3 separate regions of the Homo sapiens genome follow, and regions 2 and 3 are each linked to region 1. The links are contacts of gene promoters, found by promoter capture Hi-C in blood cells and fetal thymus (Javierre and others, 2016). All regions are on one chromosome and are shown on one strand. The core of a region is centred on a gene start or on the middle of the fragment in contact, and the rest is flanking DNA. Distances in the headings are between cores, read along the strand shown.

Evidence for each region. The method cuts DNA at HindIII sites, captures the fragments that hold promoters and counts their contacts. A CHiCAGO score of 5 or more calls a contact.
Region 2: a fragment that was not itself captured here is called in contact with the fragment with the promoter of PRPF3 in region 1 in 1 of 17 cell types (fetal thymus); the score reaches 5.3 in fetal thymus.
Region 3: a contact is called between a fragment that was not itself captured here and the fragment with the promoter of PRPF3 in region 1, in 1 of 17 cell types (neutrophils). The highest score is 6.6, in neutrophils.

The regions. Positions count from the first base shown.
Region 1 is chr1:150,319,549-150,324,351 of GRCh38, forward strand. It overlaps PRPF3 (pre-mRNA processing factor 3), which reads left to right and starts at 1,985. Exons shown (of 16, transcript NM_004698.4): 1 at 1,985-2,044. RefSeq lists enhancers at 1,099-1,664, 1,794-1,843, 2,034-2,083. The HindIII fragment of the contact is 20,070 bases long and covers 1-4,803 here.
Region 2 is chr1:150,999,454-151,004,256 of GRCh38, forward strand. MINDY1 (MINDY lysine 48 deubiquitinase 1) reads right to left here. Exons shown (of 10, transcript NM_001376665.1): 2 at 2,712-3,253; 3 at 2,272-2,329; 4 at 1,797-1,861; 5 at 1,004-1,162; 6 at 409-511; 7 at 1-58. The coding sequence starts at 3,164. Among named protein-coding and RNA genes, the nearest start is that of MINDY1, 5.0 kb to the right of the region's middle. The HindIII fragment of the contact is 1,273 bases long and covers 1,724-2,996 here.
Region 3 is chr1:150,891,021-150,895,823 of GRCh38, forward strand. All of the region lies in intron 1 of CTXND2 (cortexin domain containing 2), which reads left to right. It also overlaps a transcript of LOC107985204 not described here. Among named protein-coding and RNA genes, the nearest start is that of CTXND2, 6.3 kb to the left of the region's middle. RefSeq lists enhancers at 545-689, 1,424-1,568 and cis regulatory regions at 617, 1,496. The HindIII fragment of the contact is 2,823 bases long and covers 545-3,367 here.

The DNA.
Region 1 (4,803 bases), core at 735-3,234:
TCAGTTTTGTTTTGTCGAGATGGAGTCTCCCTCTGTCGCCCAGGCTGCAGTGCAGTGGCGCGATCTTGGCTCACTGCAACCTCCACCTCCCGGGTTCAAGCAATTCTCCTGCCTCGGCCTCCTGAGTAGCTGGGATTACAGGTGCCCACCACCACACCCAGCTAATTTTTGCATTTTTTTTAGTAGGGATGGGGTTTCACCATGTCGGCAGACTGGTCTCAAACTCCTGACCTCAAGTGATCCACCCGCCTCGACCTCCCAAAGTGTTGGGATTACAGGCGTAAGCCACCACACCTGGCCTAAAACCAGTTTCTAGAAACACATTTCTCCATAGGGAATTGAACGCAGACTGTTAGAAGCACCAAAACAAAATAAATTTACAACAACCCTGCAATGTTGAAACTCATTAACCCATTCAACAGACTTTTTGAGTGAATATTTTGTGAGACATTGGTGTTAGAAGCTGTAGGTGGGGAAACTGATTTGTGAATAAGTTGAGCAGTAGGTTCAAACTCCCCCAACTTGTTCCTTCAGAGCCAGGCTTTATCCTGTTATGTCGTGCTGCCCCATCAGGGAAGGTGGGGCTTGGTATGTACATTGTTATCTTTAGATACAAAAATCTCCTACTATCTGGGGAATGTGAATAACCTCCCTGAAGAACAACTGCATCTTCTAGTCAGCCTACCACCAAGAAGACATTTTGGAACTTTAGTTTGGATAGTTTATAATATAAAAATAATGGAATTTTTTCCATTTCTCATATAAGAAATTGTGTCATAATACTGGACAATCTTTTTCCAAACTATCTTTGTCCACACACATGTTGTTATGAATCATCGATTTAAAGAGTCAGTAGGGGCCGGGCGCGGTGGTTCAACCCTGTAATCCCAGCACTTTGGGAGGCCGAGGTGGGCGGATCACGCGGTCAAGAGATGGAGACCATCCTGGCCAACATGGTGAAACCCCGTCTCTACTAAAAATACAAAAGTTAGCTGGACGTGGTGGTCGCGCGCCTGTAGTCCCATCTACTCGGGAGGCGGAAGTTTCAGTGAGCCGAATGCACTCCAGCCTGACGACAGAGCGAGACTCCGTCTCAAAAAATAAAAAATAAAAATAAAAAATAAAGGGTCAGTAGGTTAGAGCCTCATTTTGGAGAGAAGTTAATATATAGACCTATTGATAGAATGGAGAAAACAATACTGGTAGGTCTCACTTGTCATTTATTGAGCCCAAAGTGCTGGGATTACAGGCGTGAGCCACGGCGCCCGGCCTGACACCACTGTTAAATTAGGGAGAAAGGGTTTACTTTCTACCAGAAAGGCTGTGTTTGAACACAAACGCAGAAGCCTCGCTCTTCATTCTAGCCTAAGTTTACTTTTGCGCACTTATTCTCCATATGAGGAAAACAGCAAGTAGCCCAATTTCCGCTTCAGGAAGTTAAAGACATTAACTTGGCAGAAATCGGCCGGGCGCGGTGGCTCACGCCTGTAATCCCAGCACTTTGGAAGGCTGAGGCGGGCGGATCACGAGGCCAGGAGATCGAGACCATCCTGGCTAACACGGTGAAACCCCGGCTCTACTAAAAATACAAAAAATCAGCCGGGCGTGGTGGCGGGCGCCTGTAGTCCCAGCTACTCGGGAGGCTGAGGCAGGAGAATGGCGTGAACCCGGGAGGCGGAGCTCGCAGTGAGCCGAGATCGCGTCACTGCACTCCAACCTGGGCGACAGAGCGAGACTCCGTCTCAAAAAAAAAGCTAAAAAAAAAACCTTGGCAGAAATCTAGCTAATAGGTTTAGCCTGGGAAATAGAAAGCAAGGAAATTGCTCAGGGAAACTTTTCGGTTCTGCGACGCATGCGTTCAGCCTCCAAGAAAGTGGCAAATACGGCTGCGCGAATTGGCGGCCCGGCCCTCCTTGGTCACGTGTTGGGAGACAGCGGCGTGGCGGCGGCGGTGGCGGTAGCGACGGCACGCCGTAGGGCGGTCAGAAGGTTTCCGGTTCCGGTGTAACGTTCGGGCTCCGTCTCAGGGGCTGAAGTTTGTGAGGTGAGTAGTGGCCCCGGGCCCACAGAGGGTAATTCCAGTCCGCGCCACTGTGGCCGGGGACTCAGTCCAAGGGGAGGACCGAAGCGGGAGGGTTCAGCGGGAAGGAGTGTGAAAGGAGTACCTGGTTTGGTGGGAGAAGAGGTTGGAATGAGATTGTTGAGAGGAAAAGGGCGGGGGCGGGAAGGAGACCGGGTTGGGAGACCAGCTCTGGGGTGAGGAGTTTAGGTAGAACAAGGTAGAGTAAGAGACTGGTTGGAGTGACGGAGAGAGTAAAAATGAAGATTAGCGGGGGAGTGGGGGGCTGCAGAGGGAAACTCAGGTTGTAGCAAACAAGAGCACGGAGTAAGGAATTCCTTCTGAAGACTGGATTTGGATTCTGCTGCCTGCTCATTGAGAGGAGAGATCATTGTACCTCGCTTTCCTTCCGCACCCCCACTACCCCCGCACCTCGCAGTTATTGTTGAGCATTTGATTAGTGACAAGGCTAATTACCGTTTGAAACTTTTTTATCCATTGGCTGTTTAGTTTGCACGTCATCTTATGGAGGTAACAGTGGCACCTCATTTATTGCTTTGGGCTTTCAAATTGCTTATACTTTCTAGCCTATCATTCAATTCTAGTGGAATATAAGACCCGTTAAGGTGAGGACTCTTGTTAGTTTTGCTCACTGTTTTATGTATCCACCGCACCTAGTACATTGCTTGACACTTAGTAGTTACTCAATAAATATTTATTGAATGAATTAGGATGTAAATATGGCAGTACTCATTTTGTAAGATGGTAAACTGTGGCTCCAAAGAATTACTTAACTTGCCCAAGGGCTTGTAAATGGTGGGGCTCAGTGTCCCAACTGTTTCTGTGTGAACTCTTGTTTTCACTTTCTATGGCATCTGGATATGCCGCTTTTGTGCAATACATGTGTAATATGTAGAAATTGGTACGCTGTATGTCTACTCATTGTGGGGTAATAGAACCACCATAGAATTACTCACGTAACTTGTCACTGAGGCAGAAAATCTTTCAGTCTTAGTTTCATCACTTCAATCTACTAGCTTCCTTTGGATATACCAAAAGTGAGTCTATTTGGCATCAAGTCTTATAGACTCTAGTATAGAGGCTAAACTTACCAAGAATGTAGAAGTTAATCAGACTGGATTTTTTGGAGAAAAGATGTCTTAAAACATCTTGAAAGATGATTCCCAGATCTTTGATAAGTGGCACTGCTGGGAATAGCTGAGCTTGGAAATTGAGGTCAGTCAATTTATTGACTCCCATTTAGACACCTTTTTTTTTTTTCCCCGGGACGGAGTCTTGCTCTGTCGCCCAGGCTGGAGTGCAGTGGTGCGATCTCGGCTCACTGCAACCTCCGCCTTCCATGTTCAAGGGATTCTCCTGTCTCAGCCTCCAGAGTAGCTGGGATTACAGGTGCAGGTCACCACGCCCAGCTAATATTTGTATTTTTAATAGGGATGCGGTTTCACCATGTTGGCCAGGCTGGTCTCGAACTCCTGACGTCAGATAATCCACCCGCCTTGGCCTCCCAAAGTGTTGGGATTACAGGCGTGAGCCACCGCACCTGGCTTTTTTTTTTTTTTTTTTTTTTTTGGAGACACAGTTTCACTCTGTCGCTCAGGCTGGAGTGCACATGATTTTGGCTCACCGCAACCTCCGCCTCCTGGGTTCAAGTGATTTTCCTGCCTCTGCCTCATAAGTAGCTGGGATTACAGGTGCCCACCACCTCACCTGGCTAATTTTTGTATTTTTAGTAGAGACAGGTGCAGTGGGTCACGCCTGTAATCCCAGAACTTTCGGAGGTCAAGGTGGGCAGATCACTTGAGGTAAGGCATTACCTGGCCGATATGGTGAAACCGTGTCTTTATTAAAACTACGAAATTGGCCAGGCGTGGTGGTGCATGCCTGTAGTCCCAGCTACTTGGGAGGCTGAGGCAGGAGAATCAAGTGAACCCAGGAGATGGAGGTTGCAGTGAACCAAGATTACGCCACTGCACTCCAGCCTGGGCGACGGAGTGAGACTCTGTCTCAAAATAAAAATGAGGGTATTCTTTTCTGAGCTGAAGGATCATCAAGTCAGCTGATGGAGACCCTGTAGATTGAACATGATAATTACCTGTATGCAGAATTCCCACTGGGATGAATATGACCACAGAGAAATGTGACAGAACATTCTTTTTTTTTTTTTTTGAGACGGAGTCTTACTCTGTTGCCCAGGCTGGAGTGCAGTGGCGCGATCTTGGCTCACTGCAACCTCTGCTGCCTGGGTTCAAGTGATTCTCTTGTCTCAGCCTCCCGAGTAGCTGGGATTACAGGCGCCTGCCACCATGCCCAGCTAAATTTTTTTGTAGTTTTTAGTAGAGATGGGGTTTCACCATCTTGGCCAGGCTGGTCTTGAACTCCTGACCTCGTGATCCACCTGCCTCAGCCTCCCAAAGTGCTGGGATTACAGGCGTGAGCCACCGCGCCCGGCCAGAACATTCTTAAAGATCATGAGATTTAATTTAATATCTAAGATGACTGACCTGGATAAACCCTCTTTTACTTGCATACCTTAAAAGAAGGGAATCCTACATAAGTCAGGGTTGGGTTAGGGAATGCCTGCCTGGAAGTAGGAAGAATGGAAAAGCTGGCCTCTGGATGGGCTTTTTTAGTTCTGTTTTAGTGTTACTAGGTTTGCAAGTCCTTGTTGATATGACAGGATCAAGAAAGAAGCTAGAACTAATTTCTCAGACTTAGCTTATTCA
Region 2 (4,803 bases), core at 1,110-3,609, 680 kb after region 1:
AGTCCGTGGTAGGTCAGCTGGGCCGCGGTGGTCTCCAGGAACTGCTCTGCAATCAGGCCTGCCAGAAAGGGACGAGTCGGGGGAAACTTGGCTTAAATTCAAGGTCCACAACAGGAAGGACCATCCAGAGAGCCCCTGTCAAAAGCCCCGGGGGGTCAGTCCCACCTTCTGACGTCCCTTTCTTGAAACCTGGCTGTATTCATTCACTTAACAAATACTTATAATAGAGCAGCTACCTTGTGCCAGGCACTGGGGATACCTCAATGAACTAAACAGAAATTCCCCAAGCTCCTTCTTGTGAAGCTTATATCTAGTGGGATGTGGTAGGAGATGACACCCAATAAAAAATAAGCCTAAGTAGCTGTCATTCCCTCCACATACTATCCATGAGAAGGGGAGGAATGTCACCTTCTGTCACGAGGTTGGTGTCACTGGAGTGTTTGCAGGTGATGATCCTCTCCACCAGCTGGTTGTAACTCAGTTTCCCAACTGCACGCACAGCCTCAGGACTCTGCTTGGGTAGTGGGATGTGGGATACCAAAAAAATTGGGATTTTTTTTTCTTTTTTAAGGAAGGAAATGAACAAAGCTCACAAGGACTACAACCCTGTGATGAATGGTTCCTAAACACTTTTTTTTTTTGGTCTCTCAAAAAAGAAAAAAATTTCAGGAACCATTCATCATAGGGTTGCTATGTTGCCCAGACTGGCCTCGAACTCCTCCCAAGTAGCTGGGAATACAGGCATGTGCCACCAAACCCATCTGCTTCCTGAATTTTTGATGTCTAAAGAACTGACCTATTTGCATGTAGTTTGCTTGTATTTGCATGTTACCCCCAAAATAGATTAAAATTCAAGGAATTCTGTACTGGGTCCAGTCTCTAAACACTATTTCCCTCCCAAGCCAATCTAACCCCTAACTCCCTAACCTCTACCCGACAAAAATTTGCCTCTCTCATGTCAGCTTGAGCTGGATAAGGTCCCAGTGGGCCCTCCCACCCTCACCTGTGGATCAACAAGCCAGCCATGGTACAGAGGTATGCCTAGCAGGTCAAAGACACTGCACTCGGGTGTATACTCAAAATCAGAGACGCCTGTGAATCGCACATTGACATCCAGACCTGTGGCCAGTTTAGGCAGCACTGTCATTGCATCATCCACATTCTGGGGGTAGAAAAAAAAATGATGGAGATTCTAGCCTTCTCTCCCACCACTCCACTCCCACCTGCAGAAATTAAAAATTAACCTTGCTGCTCTTCTTCCCTGATTCTCTTACAAGCCACTCCATTTCTCCCTTGCCTCAACCCTTCTCTATCTTATATAAATGAACATTGTTTTTCTTTGAGAGTCTAAGTCTAATTCTTTCATCCAGGCTGGAGTGCAGTGGTGTGATCCTAGCTCACTGCAGCCTCAAACTCTTGGTTTCAAGTGACCCTCCCACCTCAGCCTCCTGAGTAGCTGGGACTACAGGCACGCACCGCCATACCTGGCTAATTCTTGAAAAAAAAAATGGTTTTTTTTAGAGACAGGGGTATTATTATGTTGCCCAGGCTGGCCTCGAACTCCTGGCCTCAAGTGATCCTCCCGCTTTGGCATCTCAAAGTGCTGGGATTACAGGTGTGAGCACCCGGCCAATGAACATATTTTCTAGGACAAAGATAAACTCTCCTCTGACTCCTGCAGAATGAAATCATGGTTCAAGGAAACCTCTGAAGAAGCAACAAAAGCTTATCTTAGTATTACAAGATGTCCCCTTACAAACCTGCAAACCCCTATGCCTGCAGACCTTTTGCCTCACCTGCTGAAAATTAAGCTGAAGTCCCTCTGACTTCTCCTGGGGCTTGATGGACAGGAGGCAGTTTCCTACAAGACAGGGCCCCTTATCAGCTTACCCCACCAATCATCCCAAAAGCTAAGTTTCCTCTTCTCCTGGAGAATGCGGGTAATGTCACAGAACACAGATTTTCAGAGCTGGAAAATACTTAGAGTCTAATCCAGACTCTTCATTTCTCAGAGGAGGCGACAGCCTCATAAAGGTGAACGGCCCACCCAGGGTCAGATACAAAAGCTAAGGGCAGAATTGGTGTTACAACCCAGGACTCCCGACGCCTTTGCTTTTCATTCTCCAGCCTTGCAGAGAAGCCCCATAGACCCTTACCCTCCCTGCTGTATCAGAACCCCCAAATGGAGATCCCTGAATAGTCTGGATTTCTGGCTGAGTGGATAGCTCTGGAGCCCCTTGGGTAATTCCTCTTCAACGCCCAGTCACTCACCAAGATGGGCCATGAGCTCATCCGATGTGATCACTTCCTTCTGCGGGGGGAGCTTCACCTGGAGGCAGAAGGGGTGATCACGTGTGTGCTTTCCTCCAAAGAGCACTGAAGGAAGAACCCATGGAAAGGCAAGGGGGAGCTCCAGTAGTAGGGTGGGGTAGGAAAAAAGGCTTGCAACTGGCACAAGGGAATGAATGTGAAATCTTGCAAGGCATGTGCATTTGCTAGGGAGTAGGAGATACAGGGGTAGGACAGATCTTCCTCTTTTTTTTTTTTCTTTGTTTTTAGGAACATCTTATCTCATTTGCTCAAGCTGGAGAAATAGGGAGAACAATCTGAAAAGTTTTGACTAGTTTGAGGACATCAGGATGATCAAGGAAGTAAGTCAGGGAAGAGTACTCCCTGATATTTTTTGCACCCCTAACTGCATGTTCTCTTACCTTCCACTGAAGAAAGAGGATGTTCATGATGGCAAGGAGAGGGCAAGGGCCGTTAGTGCTCTGGGTGATGATGGGTGTCTGTTCTCCTTTCCAAGGGATCCACTTGACACAGTAGAAATCTGGCTCAGGCTGTCGGGTCCTGGGGGACTGAGGAAGCTCCTGGGGCATGGAGCATGCCCTTATTGTCTCTACTTCAGGCAGTGTCCCAAGGGTTGGCCCCGGTGGAGCTGAGCTAGCTTCAGGCAGAGGGGACTCAAGGTTGTCCCCACACTGGCTAGGCAGCAAAGCTTGGTCTGCTGGCTCCCGTTCTCTAGCCTCCCCATCAGCATCTCTTGCATCTGTGTCCTGAGGGTGCTCATCTGGGCCTGCCAGAACCTCATGGTTTTCAGGGATGACTGCTTCTGCAGTCCCGGCCTTACCAGGGGCTGGATCCTCAGGCTGATGGTATTCCATGGTCAAAAGGGACTTGGCTGAGGGGCACTGAAGGTGTTTACTAACCTCAGGGACTTGCCTAAGCCAGGCTTGGGATGCAAAAGAGTGACCTGTCCAATAAGAAGGAAATCAGTGGGCTGGAAAGCAAACTAACCCAGAAAAGTCTTGGAAAAGGAATGTAGTGTAGAAGGCTGGCTAGTGTTTGTGCAGTAACTCCTGGCTATGGGCAGTATATGTGTAAACAGAAGGGCCCCGTGCTGAGCTCTTTCCACCTCTAACTTGCTGTGACCAGATGAGACCAAGAGGTCGTGGGGCTTCCAGACTTGGGAGGGAAGACTGGTGGGATTGAACACATGGGTGGAGTCAGCTTCCCTGAAACAGATCATGACAGGGAAGGGAGGAAAGACAGAGAGAAAGGGAGAGCACAAAGGAGAAAGAAGGATAAGAGGTGGAGAAAGAAATGTTAAATCTACGCTAATGGTTATTAATATGATGATCTTTAGCTTACTCTAATAGGCATCACATCAGTAACCCCCTCATAGCCATGACAGAGATAATTCCTCTGCCCTACCCCACACCCTGCCCCTTCACACAACATACTAAGAATACACAGTGCTTGTATGTTTAGGGATACCTTCTCTCTGCCTCACCCAAGGATAAAAAGATTAAGTCACATAGTACTTGGGGTGAAGAATGGAGGAGGCACAGAGAGTCAGTTTCATGCCCCTAAAGGTGAAATGCTGGTGAGGAAGGGGAAGTCTTCCACCTCAAAGGGCTCTACTGAACCTTACACAATCCCAAACCACAGTATAAAGGCCTTGGGAGGGGTTTCCTGTAAGCTGGGAGGGGAAATGTAGGTGGTGGGGGCTGGAATCAGAGACTGGTTTTGATAAATAACTTCAGATTAGGGGCACAAAAAGCACTCCCCACAAGTTCTTCCAGTAAGCTTCTCTTTAAAAAAAATTAATAAAGATATCAAATTTCTTTTAATTAAACTGAGACAGGGTCTTGCTTTGTTGCCTAGGCTGGTCTTAACTCCTGGGGGCCCAAGCAATCCGCCCTCCTCAGCCTGCCAAAGGACTGGGATTACAGGCATGAGCCACGGTGCCTGGACCCAGTAAGCATCTCTTGACAGCTAGCATTGAGACAGCAACTTTTCCTCAGTTCATTTTTTTTCCCCAGAAACTACCTAAACCCAGAGGTACTCTCTTGCCTGCTATTTCTATGAAATATGAAAATGCTGATTATTAATTTACATAACAATACTTCCTGTACATTCACCTACCTAAAGTTTTATGTCTATTCCCATCCAAGTGGTTTTATTTATTTATTTTTATTTTTTTGAGACAGAGTTTTGCTCTTGTTGCCTAGGTTGGAGTGCAATGGTGCGACCTCGGCTCACTGCAACCTCTGCCTCCTGGGTTCAAGTGATTCTCCTGCCTCAGCCTCCCGAGTAGCTGGGATTACAGGCATGCAACACCATGCCCAGCTAATTTTGTATTTTTTAGTAGAGATGGAGTTTCTCCATGTTGGTCAGGCTGGTCTTGAACTTCCGACCTCAGGTGATCCTCCCACCTTGGCCTCCCAAAGTGCTGGGATTACAGGCATGAGCCACCGTGCCCAGTCCTCTCCAGGTCATTTTAGATGTGAACACCGGACC
Region 3 (4,803 bases), core at 706-3,205, 570 kb after region 1:
GTACTGTTCATACCCTACACCCAAGAGAAGCAGCATGTTCCTTCTGACATTGGAGTTTCCACATTGACAAACATTTCCTACAGGAAATGGACGTTTGCCCTGTAGAAACTCATATTGATAGAAGAATATCAGGTTAATTCTTGCCTCATGTACGCTACACATTCCTGCCTATCTGATATTTCTTTTCTTTCTTTTTTTTTTTCTTTTTTTGTGAGACGGAGTCTCGCTCTGTCGCCCAGGCTGGAGTGCAGTGGCAGATCTCAGCTCACTACAACCTCCGCCTCTTGGGTTCACACCATTCTCCTGCCTCAGCCTCCCGAGTAGCTAGGACTACAGGCACCCGCCACCATGCCTGGCTAATTTTTCATATTTTTAGTAGAGACAGGGTTTCACTGTGTTAGCCAGGATGGTCTCCATCTCCTGACCTCGTGATCTGCCTGCCTCGGCCTCCCAAAGTGCTGGGATTACAGGCGTGAGCCACTGCACCCGGCCTTATCTGATATTTCTAACACAAACATCTAATGATGTAATTTTCATGTTTACAAGCTTTCCAATGGCTCCCCACTGATTACAAAGCTGAGTCCTGAGTGTTTAATCTGCAACACAAGGTCCCTTGTGAGCTGCCTTTGCTACCAATCCTATCTATTCAGTAAAATATATCTCAAAGTCTTACTGAACAATTGCTGTTTCTCAAACATACTATATTGTCCTCCCTTAAACCTTCATATCTTTACCTGGAATATCTTCTTTCCTTCTCCCCTTTCCCACTTTTAGCTGCCAGATAAACTCATTCTTAGCCCTCAATTCAATTCATGTGTTGGCCTCTTCAGTAAAATCTCCCTTGATTCTTCCCTTTGGGCTTCTTTCCCACTTTACCCAGCAAATTGCTTTGGAATTATTTGCTTTCAGGAAGTACAGATTTTTTTATTTTTCTCTTTAACTTTATAAGATTCAGACAGTTTACTTAGTATAAAATTATACTAGAAATTTGTGATAAGGAGAATAAATGAAAGGAAATCAAAGAAAGATGGAAGTCTCTTGAAATGCACTAATTGAGAGAAGGTGGAAAATTAATAAAATATTCAGGCTGAATAAGTCTAGTGAGATCTGCAAGTGCCAGGGTAAAACAAGATGTCCTTTTTGAGGAATGTAATGATGAATAATGAGAAAATATGTGCCTGAAGTCATAAAGATATGTCATATTTTCTTCTAAAGGTTTTCAAGTTTTCCTTTTACATATAACTAAATGCAATTTTTAAAATAAATATCCTATTTTCCAGTATCTTATTGAATAGTTCATGCTTTTCCTGTGACCAACAATACCCACTGTGTTATAATTCAAGTTTCTGTAAATGTGTGATTTGCCTCTGGGCTCTCTAGGGGTATCTATGCCCACATACCTACCCCGTTGTCATAAACCCTATAGCTTTATAATAAACCTTGATTGCTGATAAGGAAAATCTCTCTACCCTATTCTTTTTCTTCAGAATGTCTTATTCTTCTTCTTCTTTTTTTTTTTTTTTTTTTTATTGAGACAGGGCCTCGCTTTATCATCCAGCCTGGATTGCAGTGGTATGAAATGAACTCGGCTCACTGCAGCCTGAACCTCCCTGGCTTAAGAGATCCTCCCACCGCAGCCTCCCAAGTAGCTGGGACTACAGGTGCCCACCACCAGGCCCAGCTAATTTTTGTAGTTTTTGTAGAGATGGGGTTTTACCATGTTGCTCAGGCTGGTCTTGAACTCCTGACCTCAGGAGATCTGTCAGCCTCAACCTCCCAAAGTGCTAGGACTACGGGCATGAGCCACCATGCCTGGCTTCTATCTTCTCTATCCTTGAGCCTTTGAGTTCCTTCATACGTTTAAGAAAATTGATTTGTCAGTTTTCTCAAAAAATCCTGATGGGATTTTGGTGGAGTTGCATTGTATCCATAGATCAATCTGGGAAGAACTAACTACTATGCTGAATCCACAAACATAGTATATCCCTTCATTTACTTAAGTGTTCTTTAACGACTATCAGTAAAGTTTGGTAATTGTTTCCAAACTGGTCCTAGTCAACTTTTGTTAAACTTATTTTTAAATATCTTACGTATTTTTAATGCCATTGTAAATGATGCTTTTTTAAAAATTACATTTTCTTGTGTGTTGCTGGTATTTAGAAATATAATTGACTTATGTATCTTATCCAGCCACCTTGCTAAGCTCTAATTATCTCACATTTTTCTTTAGACTCATCTGCGGGCAATGACGTCTGTGAATAGTAAACTTTTGTTTTCTTCTTTTTCAATCCATTTTTTTTCATCTTATCTTACTGCACTGGCTAGGACTTCCAGAATTATGTTACATAAAAGTTAATATAGTGAACATTTTTGTCTGGTTCCTGATTTTAAAAGGAAAATCTTTCAACTGTTGCCCATTAAGTAGTAGGTTTGCTATAGTTTTTTTTGTTGTTGTTTGGACAGGCTGTCACTCTGTCACCCAGGCTGGAAGACAGTGATGCTATCATGGTTCACTATGGCCTTGATCTCCGGGCTTCAAGTGATCATCCCACTTCAGCCTCCTGAGTAGCTGGAAGTACAGACATGCACCATCTTGCCTGGCTAATTTTTAAATTTTTTTAGAGAGACGGGTCTCACTATGTTGCCCCGGCTGGTCTCAAACTCCTAGCCTCAAGCAATCCTGCTGCCTCAGCCTCCCAAAATGCTGGGATTACAGGTATGAGCCACCATACCCAGCCTATACATTTTTTATGGATACCCCCACTTATGCCTAGTGTTCCATTATTGGAACCCTAAGCATGTGGGGGTTATTTATGTCCTACTGCTCAAGGTCATCACCAAGGTCTGATTGCAAAAATTCAAAAAATTGCACCCTCAGGCATAAATGGGTTAAAGGAGCTCCTTTCTATCCCTATTTTGCTAAGAATATTAACATAGGTGTTTTATATTAGTATCTTTTTTTTCTTTTTTTTTAACCAGAGATGGGGGCGTCTCACTATGTTGCTCAGGCTGGTCTCGAACTCCTGGACTCAGGCAATCCTCCTGTCTTGGCTAGTATTAAGTTTTATCAAATGCTTTTTCTGTAATCATTGAGGTAATTTTTTCATTTAATCTATATATTAAATGTCACTTACAGGTTTTCTCATGTAAACTACCCTTGCATTTCTGGGAAAAACTCAGCTTGGTATTTGTGTCAATCAGGATTTATTTGCAGGGAATAGAAACTTTCTAGTTATTTAAAACAGAAGTAGGATTCTTAGTTACACATGACCGAAAAGCCCAACTCAAATGGGATTAAAGACTACAATGGAAAAATATGAATTTGCTAATTATAGGGCACAAGATTTTATAGATGTTCAATAAATCAAGCTTGTTAATTGTATTATTCAAATATTCTATATCTTCACTGATTTTTGCCTAGTCAACCTATTAATACTTGAGAAGAATGTGTGTTCTATCTACCATAATGGTGGTTTATATCTATTTCTCTCTAGAGTTCTATTGCTTTCTTATTTAAGACTGTTTTATTAGATGCATATAATGTATTTATTTATTTATTTTATTTAGCGGGTACAAGTGCAGATTTCTCACATGCATATATCAATGTGGTAAAGTCTGGACTTTCAGTGTACCCATGTAGGTACATATAATTTAGAATTGTTATATCTTCCTACTGAATTGAACCCTTGATCATTATTTATTAATCCTCTCTATCCTTAATAATGCTTTTTGTGGCCAGGCACAGTGGTTCATGCCTGTAATCCCAGCATTTTGGGAGACTGAGGCGGGTGGATCACCTGAGGTCAGGAGTTTGAGACCAGCCTGGCCAACATGGTGAAACCCCACCTCTACTAAAAATAAAAAATTAGCCGGATGTGGTGGCGCGTGCCTGTAGTCTCAGCTACTCAGGAGGCTGACACAGGAGAATTGCTTGAACCAGGAGGAGGTTGTAGTGAGCCGAGATCGCACCACTGCACCCCAGCCTGGGTGACACAGTGAGACTCCGTCCCCCTCAAAAAAACATATATATATACATATATATATATATGATGCTTTTTGTATTTAGTTCTATTTTGTCTGATATTAATATAGCTATAAAATTTTATAGATATAAAATTTTATTTTGGCTAGTCTTTACCAAATATGCCTTTTTCTATCCCTTTTATTTTCAGCCTTTCCATGTCTTTAAATTTTAGGTGAATTTTTAAAAAATAGACTATAGCTAGATTGGGGCCAAGACCAAAGAATGGATGTTTGTCATTTTTTGTCTGCCCAACATCCAACTACCCTTCCTGTTTGGGGAAATCTTTTTTTTCTTTTTTTTTCTTTTTTTAATTTTGTGTGACGAAGTCTCTTTCTGTTGCCCAGGCTGCAGTGCAGAGACGCGATCTCAGCTCACTGCAACCTCCACCTCTCAGGTTCAAGTGATCTTCCTACCTCAGCATCCCAATTATCTGGAATTATAGGTGCGCACCACTACGCCCAGCTAATTTTTGTATTTTCAGTAGAGATGGGCTTTCACTATGTTGACTAGGCTGGTCTTGAACTCCTGACCTCAAGTGATCCACCTGCCTCGACCTCCCAAAGTGTTGGGATGATTACAGGCGTGAGCCACTGCACCCGGCCATGAAGAAGTCTTTCTTCACATGAATCTGTCAGAAACAATTCCCACTGCGGAGGCCTAGAGAAATCAAATATTCCCTCTTCCACCCTCTGGCAGCCAAGGTGTTAGTGCATGACTCAGCCTTGACCAGTCAGATGCTCTAGCCAGAGACTAGACTATTGAGTGACACAAAGATGACA